2 separate regions of the Homo sapiens genome follow, and region 1 is linked to region 2. The links are contacts of gene promoters, found by promoter capture Hi-C in blood cells and fetal thymus (Javierre and others, 2016). All regions are on one chromosome and are shown on one strand. Each heading gives the region's core, a stretch centred on a gene start or on the middle of the fragment in contact. The rest is flanking DNA. Distances are from core to core; before and after follow the strand shown. Region 1 overlaps ZNF407 (zinc finger protein 407). Region 2 holds the start of TSHZ1 (teashirt zinc finger homeobox 1).

Region 1 (5,510 bases), core at 2,380-4,879, 560 kb after region 2:
TAGTATGCCTACTACCAATTTCTCTTTTTTAGTAGAAATGATCAGCAGCAGAATTATTCCTTGAATTATCAAGACCTACGATTGTCAATGCAACGATTTCATGTCTGTTATTGCTAATGTAAAACTAAATATTTTGAAGTATTGATACTTAAAAGTCTGTAATTGAGCACTCATTAAAATTATATCGATGGACATAAATTTCACTCAAAAAAAGGAGTCCAATGAATAATATATTAGCATGTTCATGATAACACATAAGCCAACAATGTCAATTCATTTTTTTCTAAAAAATAGCTAAAATCATCATTTTATTTCAAATAGCATACATCATTTCAATAAGTTATCATAAGGAAACACTAAGTGTGCATAATTACGTTAGTTTTTGATAATCTACTGATGCTTTAAATAATGTATAAGCATGAGCTTTTTTCCAACATGTTAGTTTGTAGTATCGCTATTTTGTAAAAGACATTACTGAAATTGAAACTAATCACTATGAATCAATATATGAAGATTCAATAAATATAAGCATATCGATACATGTTAAATATATTTAGCATTTAATTGCTAAAAACCCATTGTCCCTATACTAAAGATCTGAGTCAAAAATAGATTCAACTTTTATGGTTAGTAATATTTCACAATAGTTCTGCAAATATATATTAATAATATACTGAGATTACAAAATTATAATTTTATAAACCATAGACATAAAAAGGCCCATCATTTTCTAGGTGTTTAAACCTAAGTTACTATTACTAACTTCAGTTGGCAAATGGCAGGTTTAATGGACACAATATTCTTTTGTTACTCAAAATATAGACAACTGAGAATATGACGCTTAAATAAACTTTTAAAGAGATTCAACTTGAAATCCCTGCAACTAAAACAGCATAATCTACAATAGCCAAACAGAAAACTTCATAGCAACTAGATATTTTGATTGGAAAACCATATATCCAAGAGAACTGCAATGACATCAATTTCCTTACCACAGACATCTATGGCTATCTTGATAGGCTTAATTTGGTTCAACAAAATGTCACATCACACAAACCATGTTCAGTGAATTCTACAAAATCTAAATACAGAACATAGGGTGTGGAGTCAAATATAAATTGTTTAATAAATTTCAAATCTCTAGAATTTTCCGTTTTTCAACCAATCCACATCTAGCAAGCTTTGCTAATAACCTCCCTTGTTTTTATGGAACATGTCCAGTCATAGCTTATATGACTGATTTGAAATGCAAGCTTAAATTTATTCCAAACTCACTAATGATCAGCTATAAACACCTAACATACCCTATATGTGAGAGGTGACTGAAACTGAGAAAATGTAATTTACCGAAGGAGAAACTAAACTGTGTTATGTGCATTGGTTCTGACTTAGGAAAGTTTTGCCAATAGTTCTTTGTTTTGATTTTTCAGACCAAGGGAGGAAGCACCTCGGGAAGTTGTAATATGAAACTAATGGAGAAAAATATAGCACCCACCCCTGAAAACCTTTTGTATTGTTTCAATCACAAAACTTACCCCAGTAGAAGTGTTAGAGTAACATAATATTGCCCTCTGCTGGTCCTTCATGATTTTTACATCTAACTGCCTTAGTTTAAGTTCTCAGCATGGGGGGAAAATATAAGCAATATTCATGTAATAAGCAAAAACAAATAATAAAGATTAAAATACCGTAAGTTCCACAGTAACGTTTCCATGATATATATTTTTATTTTATATTTAGTTTAAACAGGAAAAGGCTACGATGTATTTTGAAATTGCTCGATGAATAAAAACCCTAGCAAGTATTAAAACCCTTTATTTCTAGAAATATAATCATACTGCTGTCTTCCAACAATCAAATGTGTTTTAGATAATGATAGGAAACAGAAATATGCTGAATATTTTGGCAACGCTATAAAAAGGTACTTAACTTTGATCTTTAGATATTTTTCTGCTGTAATTTTAAGTGATTTCCTACATTATAGCTCTGAATAATATTTTCAAAAGCCTCTTTAAAAGGGTAGAAAAAAGGGGGACTATACTGTACTTGAATGGAAAAGCTGCTCTACTTGATGATATCAAATTCTTGAGCAAACTTTCCATGAAGTCATCTTTACCTACAGGAAGTCAATTAAAATCTGACAGGAGAGATTAAGGGCTCTGTGACAGATTTCACTGGTCTGTACTCAGTATAGACACAGCAATGCTATAACATTGAAGTTACAATGAATATTTAACAATCCAACGACTAACTACTCCAGCAGAGTTTTCAAAATAATGTGATGTCCCTATTTGTTAGAGCAAGTTCACTCTGGCATCAATTAAATCATGAACTGTCATCTTGATTGCTCTCTTTGTTGAGGGACAGCACATTTCCATCTAAGGATCACCTCGGCTTTATATCTCTGCAAGACAATTCATAATTCTGAGCAGCAGAATGAATGCACAAATTACATTCTTCAACCTTTTACTCCCACTAAATCTTTCCTTTTTTCCACTTTGCTGAGCCTGAATATTTTATTCCTCCATCAAATATGCATCCCATTAATTAAGTTAAATTACTTCTGACTGCCAAATATTCTCTGTCGATGACTGTCAACAGAAAATACATGGCTGTGAACTTCTAATGACACAGTCTCGCTTAAACATGAGTTACAACCTTCACGCAGGCATCTACAGGCAAATTATCGGCCTCTTCTTCAAAACCGGGCTGAAATTAAATGCTGGTTTCTTTTTCTTCAGCTTTTAACAAGTACACAATAGATGACACTCGTACTTGACAAAGCAAGTACTGCAATTTTAATTATATACCTTTTCCTCATCTTTTAATTGCTGTTGTTAATCAGTCATTAACTTCTTCCCAAAGTGCAAGATTCTTAAATCTCCTTCAAAACATTTCGGCTCAATAAATTCCATCGCTCTTCATAACTAACATATAATTTTGTCTATTTTTAAAACTGTCATTTTCCAAACAGGGTATTTTTAATGTGCTCTTTAAGGATGACAGTAACAGGGTTTTAATCATAACTTGCATAAAATTATCACTCTCTAACACATCAAGACTAAAACAACCCAGAAAGACTTAAATGGGTTGTTTAAGAATAATTTTGTAACATAAACACCAAAATTTCTATCTTTACCCTTGAGCTACAGTCCCACCAAGCTAAGGGGGGAAATATTATATTTATATATAGATAGATAGATAGATAGACACACACACACATATATAGCAATTTCTTGCCCCCTCCACTACAGAAATGGAAATGTAGTTCTCAATAATTTATTATGCTCTCTATCACAGTATAATCATTAGTGCAAAAATATTTAATTACAGTGAAACTGTTATGACATTACTATAAAGCCAGTAAATTTTTTTCTACACCTTAAGATAATGTGTTCTTTGGGGTAACAAACAATATTCCCGTGGCCCACCCCTTCCATGAATACTTCAAAAATGCCACCTAGGCCCTATGTAAGTGTTCTCTGTCTCTCTCACAAAGAGAACCTGCAAAGTCTGTGAGTTTGCCTGTTTCATACATGAGCCCACCCTAAAGTGTATGACCAAGTGCAGACCCCTGTCAACCAAACTACCTAGAAAGAGTGACTAACAGGATGTCTGCTGAACTACACCAACACAGCAGTCATCAACCTAACTTGTCTGTGGATGCAGAAAGGTGCTCCGTTTCTCTCAATGTTTACAAGTCTCTAAATCTCAATGGGGCTTCTTTTGAAGTACTGCAGCAATTCAAAACAAAGAAATTGTCAGTCTTTGCATCCCTTAAAGTGACTAGGCAGGAGTGCTACATGATGCAGACTAAGTAAGCACCAACAATTGTAAACGATACCATGCACAGAGACCATATAGTCCATCAGATACTAGCTGAAAAGGAACTTTTCAGCTAAGAACTAAGAGACAGCAGGGAGGGGTGGCAGGGGAAATAAAATTATTCTGCCAATGGGCACTAGTCAAACAGACTATGACAAAGACATTTTCGATTATTTGTTCCTAATACAAAATAAAGTGAAATGCTATTTTTGACAATCCAGCTGATTTTAGATATAATTCACATTGCCCATGTTCTATCATCTTAAGGAAAAGAGAAAACAGTTGCCTCACAATGAATACCCAAATTGCTTGTGTATCTTCATCACTTAATAGTTAATTCTATCCTTTGATAGAAGTGACCATCTAAACTCAAAAGGAATTATAATAGATTCACCACTGTTGGTTACTGAAACTAGAGTTCCCACGTTTGGCACTCAGAAAATGTTTGAAAATGAATGGACGAATGTTGATCAATTAATTAACTTTGCTGCTTAAACCTGTGTCCATTATTTCCCTTGTTAAAAAGAATGGTAGCTAAAAATAGTGAGACTGAAAAGTTTAAGAGCTACATTAAAGCTAATTAGAATGCCAGTGGGATAAAATAGAAACAGCCCTGACCCGAGAGTCACAAGTCCTGGGTTCTTGTCTCCATTTGTGAAAAGTCACTTAAGCTCTTGACCCAAATTTCTTTACCTGTCCACTAGATGGATTGGACCAGGCAACAGTGTAAGTTCTAAAACCCTATTTTTAAAATAAATTTTAGTGGTGAATACTAAAATGTCTTTAATATTTAAACACATTCCAATTTTTCAGACTAGCACAAATTTATGTTGTGAAGCATTTGACTATCAATGTCCCTAGCCACAATGTAAAAAATCATACTTATTTTCTAATATTATAATGATAATTACCAGATGTGTTGACATAAGACCACTTTCACCTATTTCACTTACAGCAGCACTTCTAAAATAGACTAGAGACCATCTTACATTTAGCCAGATTTTATAAGAATTTTCCAGTACCCCATTAACACATGTAATGGTGACAGCGTAATTATGATGCAAATTAACACTTTATTGGTCCTTCAAAAACAACCATCCCTTGAGCCCAGCTCAATATATTCTTATAGTACCTCAGCAGTAAATAGGACTTTTTAAAATTGAGTGGAAATAGCAAACCAAAAATAACTTTCTAAAAATTTGTATATCTAGATAGTAGCATATTCTACAGTGCTTGAAACTGCTATTTCTCAGTACTTTGCTACTTAGACAACAGACTTTGGTATACTAATGCTAAGGCAGGGGAAAGAGGAGACAGGGTCTCAGAAGAAAAGTGACAGGGGATCAAGGGTGCGGAGGGAGAACACTCCAGAAACACAGACCACGGAAGCGATTAGAAACAAGACAAGTACCCCAGGACTAAGATGTAGGAAAGTAAGTAGATTACTACACAGTACATACTTTTTAAAAATTAATGGTTTCCTGTCCCAACTGAAATTGCCCATCCAGAGGATCAAGTATGGAAACAATTACAGCATCTGGTACCATGGTATTAGTTACATGTGGACATAGGTAGCACGGCTACGTAACTGCATATGTCCTCTTAATTATTATTTGGAACTATGCTGCATTAAGTTATATGGATCAGTTATCAACCTGTTTTCATTACAATTGTCCAAAATCAAT
Region 2 (5,231 bases), core at 1,144-3,643:
CATAAACGTAGATACTATTCCCAAATTTTTTTAGTAGCAGTAATCTCTGCTTTAAGTGCTTCCCCAGAAAAAGCACGTATAAAGACTTGAACACGTGCACATTACTGAATGTGATACTCAAACTTATTCAGATTCTATTCTGTACTGCAACAGCTAAAGAGTCGCTCATGTTTAAACATAAAACACTCCTTCTAATATTTTTACCCTAAGAGCTTGGAGAGAGTTGATTTACTCTATTATTTAGCGATAACTCACTGGCATATGGGTTGCATTCTCAGCCCCACAAACGCAATGTCCAAAACTGAGACAAGACTTGAGCAGGCAGCAGAATCACTGGGCTATTTTCAAACCTGTGCTCAAAAACGCACGGCAGCTGACCCACCCCAGGTTTAGCAATGGATTAGTAGGTGAGCTGAGTTAAGGGATGCTGCAGCTGTAAAACTTCTGAGACAAAATTAAAATGGAGCAGCAAAAGGGGGAGCGAGAGAGAAAAGTTGCCCTGATAGTGGCGGAGCTGTCAGGAGCATGTGTGTTTCCATGGTGAGTGATTTATTGATGTTTATCAGGAATGAATAGATCAAAGGCTGCCAGATGACAGGCGATCAATCACACATCAAATCAAGGATGGCAATCCTCTAATAAAACAGAAAACAAGGAAAACCAGCTCCTGCCAGTTCCTCCTCCAGAGAAAAATAACTTTTCTGTTCAATCAGAGTCTGCACTATCACTGCCTTGTGCTGGCCTGATCAAAAGACATCTTTAGAGGTAATAAAAAAAAAGTGGGGGCGGGGGGCCTCTTGCACAGGACATTAAAGGCTGCTGTTTTCCAGAGAAATCTTCTGAACACATTCTTTGCGTCCCAGCCTGGTGACCTTGTTTTCAAGTGTCAGGTTCAGCCTCCCCGCCTTTGGAGGACTTTTCCAGTGCGCTCCGGCAGCCAAGGAGCAACTACTTCCCCTCAGCGCACGCCCCCTCCTGAGGTAGCCAGAAGCACCCGCCGTCCCGCGGCCCCCGGCCTCCCCCGGCCATCCGGGCTTCCCGCAGCGCAGAGAAGCACCGCGAACTTTCTCTGCTCCACGCGCCGGCCCAGGTTGGGGGTGTGGGGGAGGACGGCGACCGCAGCCTCCAGACGACTGTGGCCAGCGCAGGCTGGGCCTCCCCTCCCCAGCTTGGGGCGGCCCGCGGCCCACGTCCCGCACCTCGGCCCGCGAAGCCCCCTCCTCCTGCTCCTCCCGGCGCCCACTCCCCGCGGCGCGGGCCGCGCGCCCGTTACCTGCCGAGCGCCGGGGGGCCTGCTGCTTCCTCCTCGGCATGCTGCTCGGCCGCCGCAGCCGTCGCCTCAGCCGCCGCCGGAGTTCGCGGGGCGCGGGGACGCGGGGCCCCGGGCGCGGGCGCAACTCCGCGGCGCGCCCAACTTTGGCCTCGTCCCCGCGGGCTCCGGGCTCCGGGCGCGCCGCGGACCGCGGGGAGCCGCTCGCATGGACCGCCGCGCCCGGGGCCGCTCAGGAGGCGGCGGCGGCGGCCGCGCGGCCCGCTTCCCGGCGCCGGGCTGCGGGCGGAGCGCGCGGGGCCTGGGCGCCGAGCCCGGAGTCATCCCCGGCGCGGGCCGCGGGCGCAGCAGCGGGCGCTCGGCGGGCCGGCCCGCGGCCCGCGCTCCATGCTGCCGCCTCCCCGCCGCCGCGCTGCTGCTGGGCGGGCGCTCCTCCCGGCGCGCCGCTCCGGGCGCTCCCCTGCGCCTTCTTCCGCGAGCCGAGAGTCGCCGAGCGCAACTTTCTCTCCCCCTCTCTCCTCGCTGTTTGGGGGTCGCGGCGAGTGTTTTTAGTGCGCGGGTCGCAGCTTTCTCATTGTGCGCCAGCGAGGCCGATGCAGGCTGTCCTTTTCCTCCCCGCACTTAGTCTAAGAGGAAGAAAGCAAACAAGACAGAGGAGTGAAGCCCCCGTACATACATGCGCCGGGGGGAGATGTCAGGCGCTGCTCCACCTTCCAAACAGTCACAGATCAAACAGTGTCACCCCGCCGGAGCGCCACTTGGTGCCCCGCGCTTCCACCCGGGGGGCTTGGCCGCCAGGATCGCCGCTTCTTCCAATGCGAAATCTAATGCAAACACATTTTGATCATGGATTTTTGGCCGGTCTTGATCTTCCAACAGAAAAAAATTTGAAAAATACACAAAAAGCACCCCCCCCTCCAAGAAAAAAAAAAGGCAACAACAACCCGGAGAGTGTGTGCAAAGGGGGTGAAGAGCAGACATTCACTGGGTGGGCGAGATGAGCGTGGACTGTCCCCCCCCCCCTCAAACTCCTGGGAGAGAGGGAGATGCACTCTCGCTCTCTCCTCTTTTCAGTGAAATATAACACACATTCGGATCGCAGAGCTTTCAGACAGTCTCAACTGATAGACAGACACATCGAGCTGCTTTTCCTGCTTCAGTTTTTACTCCTCCTCCTCTCGCCAACGTCACCCTGACAATTACAAATAGGTCTCTCACAAACCATACCTGTCAATCTTTTTAATTGCTTTGTTTTCTTTTTTTCGGAGCTAAACAATATGACAAAAAAAAGAAATCTTAATACAGCATAACATAAAAGATTGTACATTGGAGGAATTCATTCAGTGTTGTTATTGTAACCCACTGGCTGATACCGGGTAAAACCCATATGCTCTAAGTTAAGTAGACATTAGTTCCTGCAGATTTTTAAACCTGTTAGTTCCCCCCCAACACACACACATACACATACACACACTTGCACATTCATACACACGCAACCACGTGCATCCAAACTACCCTTGGGTGAAGCATGTCCTACATTTGGGGGGAAAAATATCTGTGTCGCTTTTGCAATCTCAGGTTGGGGGGTTAGATTTGGCTGGGGAGGAGCCCAGAGTAGCTTTTATATTTTGGTAATTCGTGGGTAACTGAAAAGCAAGATATTTTTAAAATTAAATTTTACAATTTAAATAAAAATGTAAAGATGGACTTAGTTCATCACAGAAAAGTGTGGAAATATTTAATTTGGCCCCTCTATAAAAAGTGAATTGACATTTGGTCCATGCACGCCAGTAGGGAGAAAACGGACACGATGGAACGACAGATCTTTCTAGCTGGGTTCGAAAATGAGGTCCTCACACAGCAGTGCAACGTCTCCAATTCAGTTAAGTCCCTCGGCATCCCCACGTAGAACTTTAAAATGTGTCTGTGCTCTGGGAATTTGGCCTTCTGGTTTTCTATATGTGTGTTCTCTCCCAATGGGAAACCTGTAACAGTCTTGTAGATCTACTTAAAACATTCATGGAAAAACATGAAATCTAGGCCAAAATAAATAAAATGGCTTAGTTCCTGCAACTTGCATGGGACAGACCGTGGACAGAAAGCACGCGCAAGGGGTTCCGGGGACAGGAAGCCACCAGCCTGGGGAGCGGGAGGCACTGGACATTTCCCCGCCCCGCGGTCGGTACGGGTGCGCGTGCGGCAGCGGCGGCAGGGGCTCCCCGCCCTGCCCGGGGTCCCCGGTCGTGCCCCGCCGCCCGGGCCGCGCTCGGGGTTGATTCGTACCACCTTGCAAGGAAGTGAACGCTTCGCACGGGAAGGGGAGGCGCCTGCGCCGGCCGCCGCGCAGCTCCGGGGACGCCCGGGGCTGCCGCCGGCTCGGGGCCGCAGACGACCGCGGGACGCGCGAGTCCCCCGTCCCCCCTTGCCCGCCGTCCCCCCCGCCACCCTTGCCCGAGAGGAGTCAAATCCGGCTTTTAGAGCTCGGGGAGGGTGGGGATATCCGGTGCCTCTCCCGCGCCAGGAGGAAGGGGGAGGGCGGAGAGGATCCTTGGCCAGTCTGCGCCGAGCAGATTCAAACCAAAACAAAAAGATTAAAGGAGCAGCGGCCGGGGCGGCAGCGGTCCCCAGGCCGGGACACCCGGGGTGGTGCGCCCGGGTTCGCGGGGGCTGCGCCGGCGCCGGGGAGGCGGGGGGAGCGGGAGCGGGCGACGCGGGGAAGGGGGGAGCCAGGGGGAGGGCGCCGGCCGGAGGAGGGGCGGACCCGCCCGCCCTAGCCGAGCAGAGCACAGCCGAGCCGAGCGGCCCGGGCGGGGGCCGACCCCGGCCAGCGTCGGCGCAGAGAGCGGGCGGAGGCGCAGGCCATGCTGCGGCTGGTGCCCACCGGGGCCCGGGCCATCGTGGACATGTCGTACGCCCGCCACTTCCTGGACTTCCAGGGCTCCGCCATTCCCCAAGCCATGCAGAAGCTGGTGGTGACCCGGCTGAGCCCCAACTTCCGCGAGGCCGTCACCCTGAGCCGGGACTGCCCGGTGCCGCTCCCCGGGGACGGAGACCTCCTCGTCCGGAACCGGTGAGCCCGGCGCCCCCCAACCCCACGCCCCCGTTCTCGCCCCGGGCTCGCGCCGCGCCGCGCCGCTCCCGCAGTCCCCAGCCCGCCCGCGTGCCCACACTCCGGCGCGCGCTCGGGCGCACAGCCTGAGTTTGCGAGATCCCGGGAAGTTGAACCCGCCGCCATCTGGCGAAGGCGAATGTGATGTGACTGTTGCTGGTGTGAATATCCGATGCCACCGAACGTCCTCATAACTGAGGGTTATTTTAATTTGGGATTCCCCTCCCCTCCTCCAGCCCTCCCTCCTCCCCCTCCCGCTCCCGAAATAAAACCGACGGGACCCAGAAGGGGAGGCTCCCCGCCGGGCCGCCCGCGCGCACCCACAGTTCCTGCGTTGACATAATCTTTAGGGTGGAGCGGGAGCAGCCTGGACGCAAACTGCGACGTTTAGGTAAACGTGCTTCGGAGGAAGGAGGCTGGGACCCGGCTGGCTTTCCCTGTTCCCTCCAGGTTGGCAGCCGCCTCGCAGTGGCGGAGCCTGTCGTTGGATGTGTGGGTGTGCACCTCGCCGGTGTTGTCTGCGTGCTGTCAGTGCAGTGTGACTGTTGTCTGTCCCCTGAGTGTTAACGACCGCCGCGTGGCGCGTGTCCCGGGCAGCTGGGCCAGGGTCGGGGTGGGGGCATGGCTGCCTTTGCCGGCACGTTTTGCAGACATTCAGGTGACACCGGGTTGTTGCGAGACCTTCTGGCTTTTCCATTCCCCGCGCTCCCCACCGTCGTGTTTCCGCCTCACTCATCTTTAGTAACTGGCGAAGCAACAGGGAGGAAACGGACCTCACTCTTTATCGGAGCCATGCCCGCTTAGGTCTTTGCTCCGTGGGTCCCTGGCTGCCCGACTTGACTGGCAAGGCGC

The links. Contacts are between HindIII fragments. The CHiCAGO score rates a contact against its expected background, and 5 or more counts as called.
Region 1: a contact is called between a fragment that was not itself captured here and the fragment with the promoter of TSHZ1 in region 2, in 8 of 17 cell types (M2 macrophages, M0 macrophages, M1 macrophages and 5 more). The highest score is 14.5, in M2 macrophages.

The regions. Positions count from the first base shown.
Region 1 is chr18:74,648,636-74,654,145 of GRCh38, reverse strand. All of the region lies in intron 3 of ZNF407 (zinc finger protein 407), which reads right to left. Among named protein-coding and RNA genes, the nearest start is that of ZNF407, 54 kb to the right of the region's middle. The HindIII fragment of the contact is 4,748 bases long and covers 1,256-5,510 here.
Region 2 is chr18:75,207,959-75,213,189 of GRCh38, reverse strand. TSHZ1 (teashirt zinc finger homeobox 1) reads right to left here and starts at 2,393. Exons shown (of 2, transcript NM_001308210.2): 1 at 1,274-2,393. The coding sequence starts at 1,313. PTGR3 (prostaglandin reductase 3) reads left to right here and starts at 4,051. Exons shown (of 2, transcript NM_175907.6): 1 at 4,051-4,340. The coding sequence starts at 4,132. RefSeq lists silencers at 1,080-1,399, 3,337-4,376, 4,402-4,577 and enhancers at 2,282-2,576, 3,616-4,546. The HindIII fragment of the contact is 17,256 bases long and covers 1-5,231 here.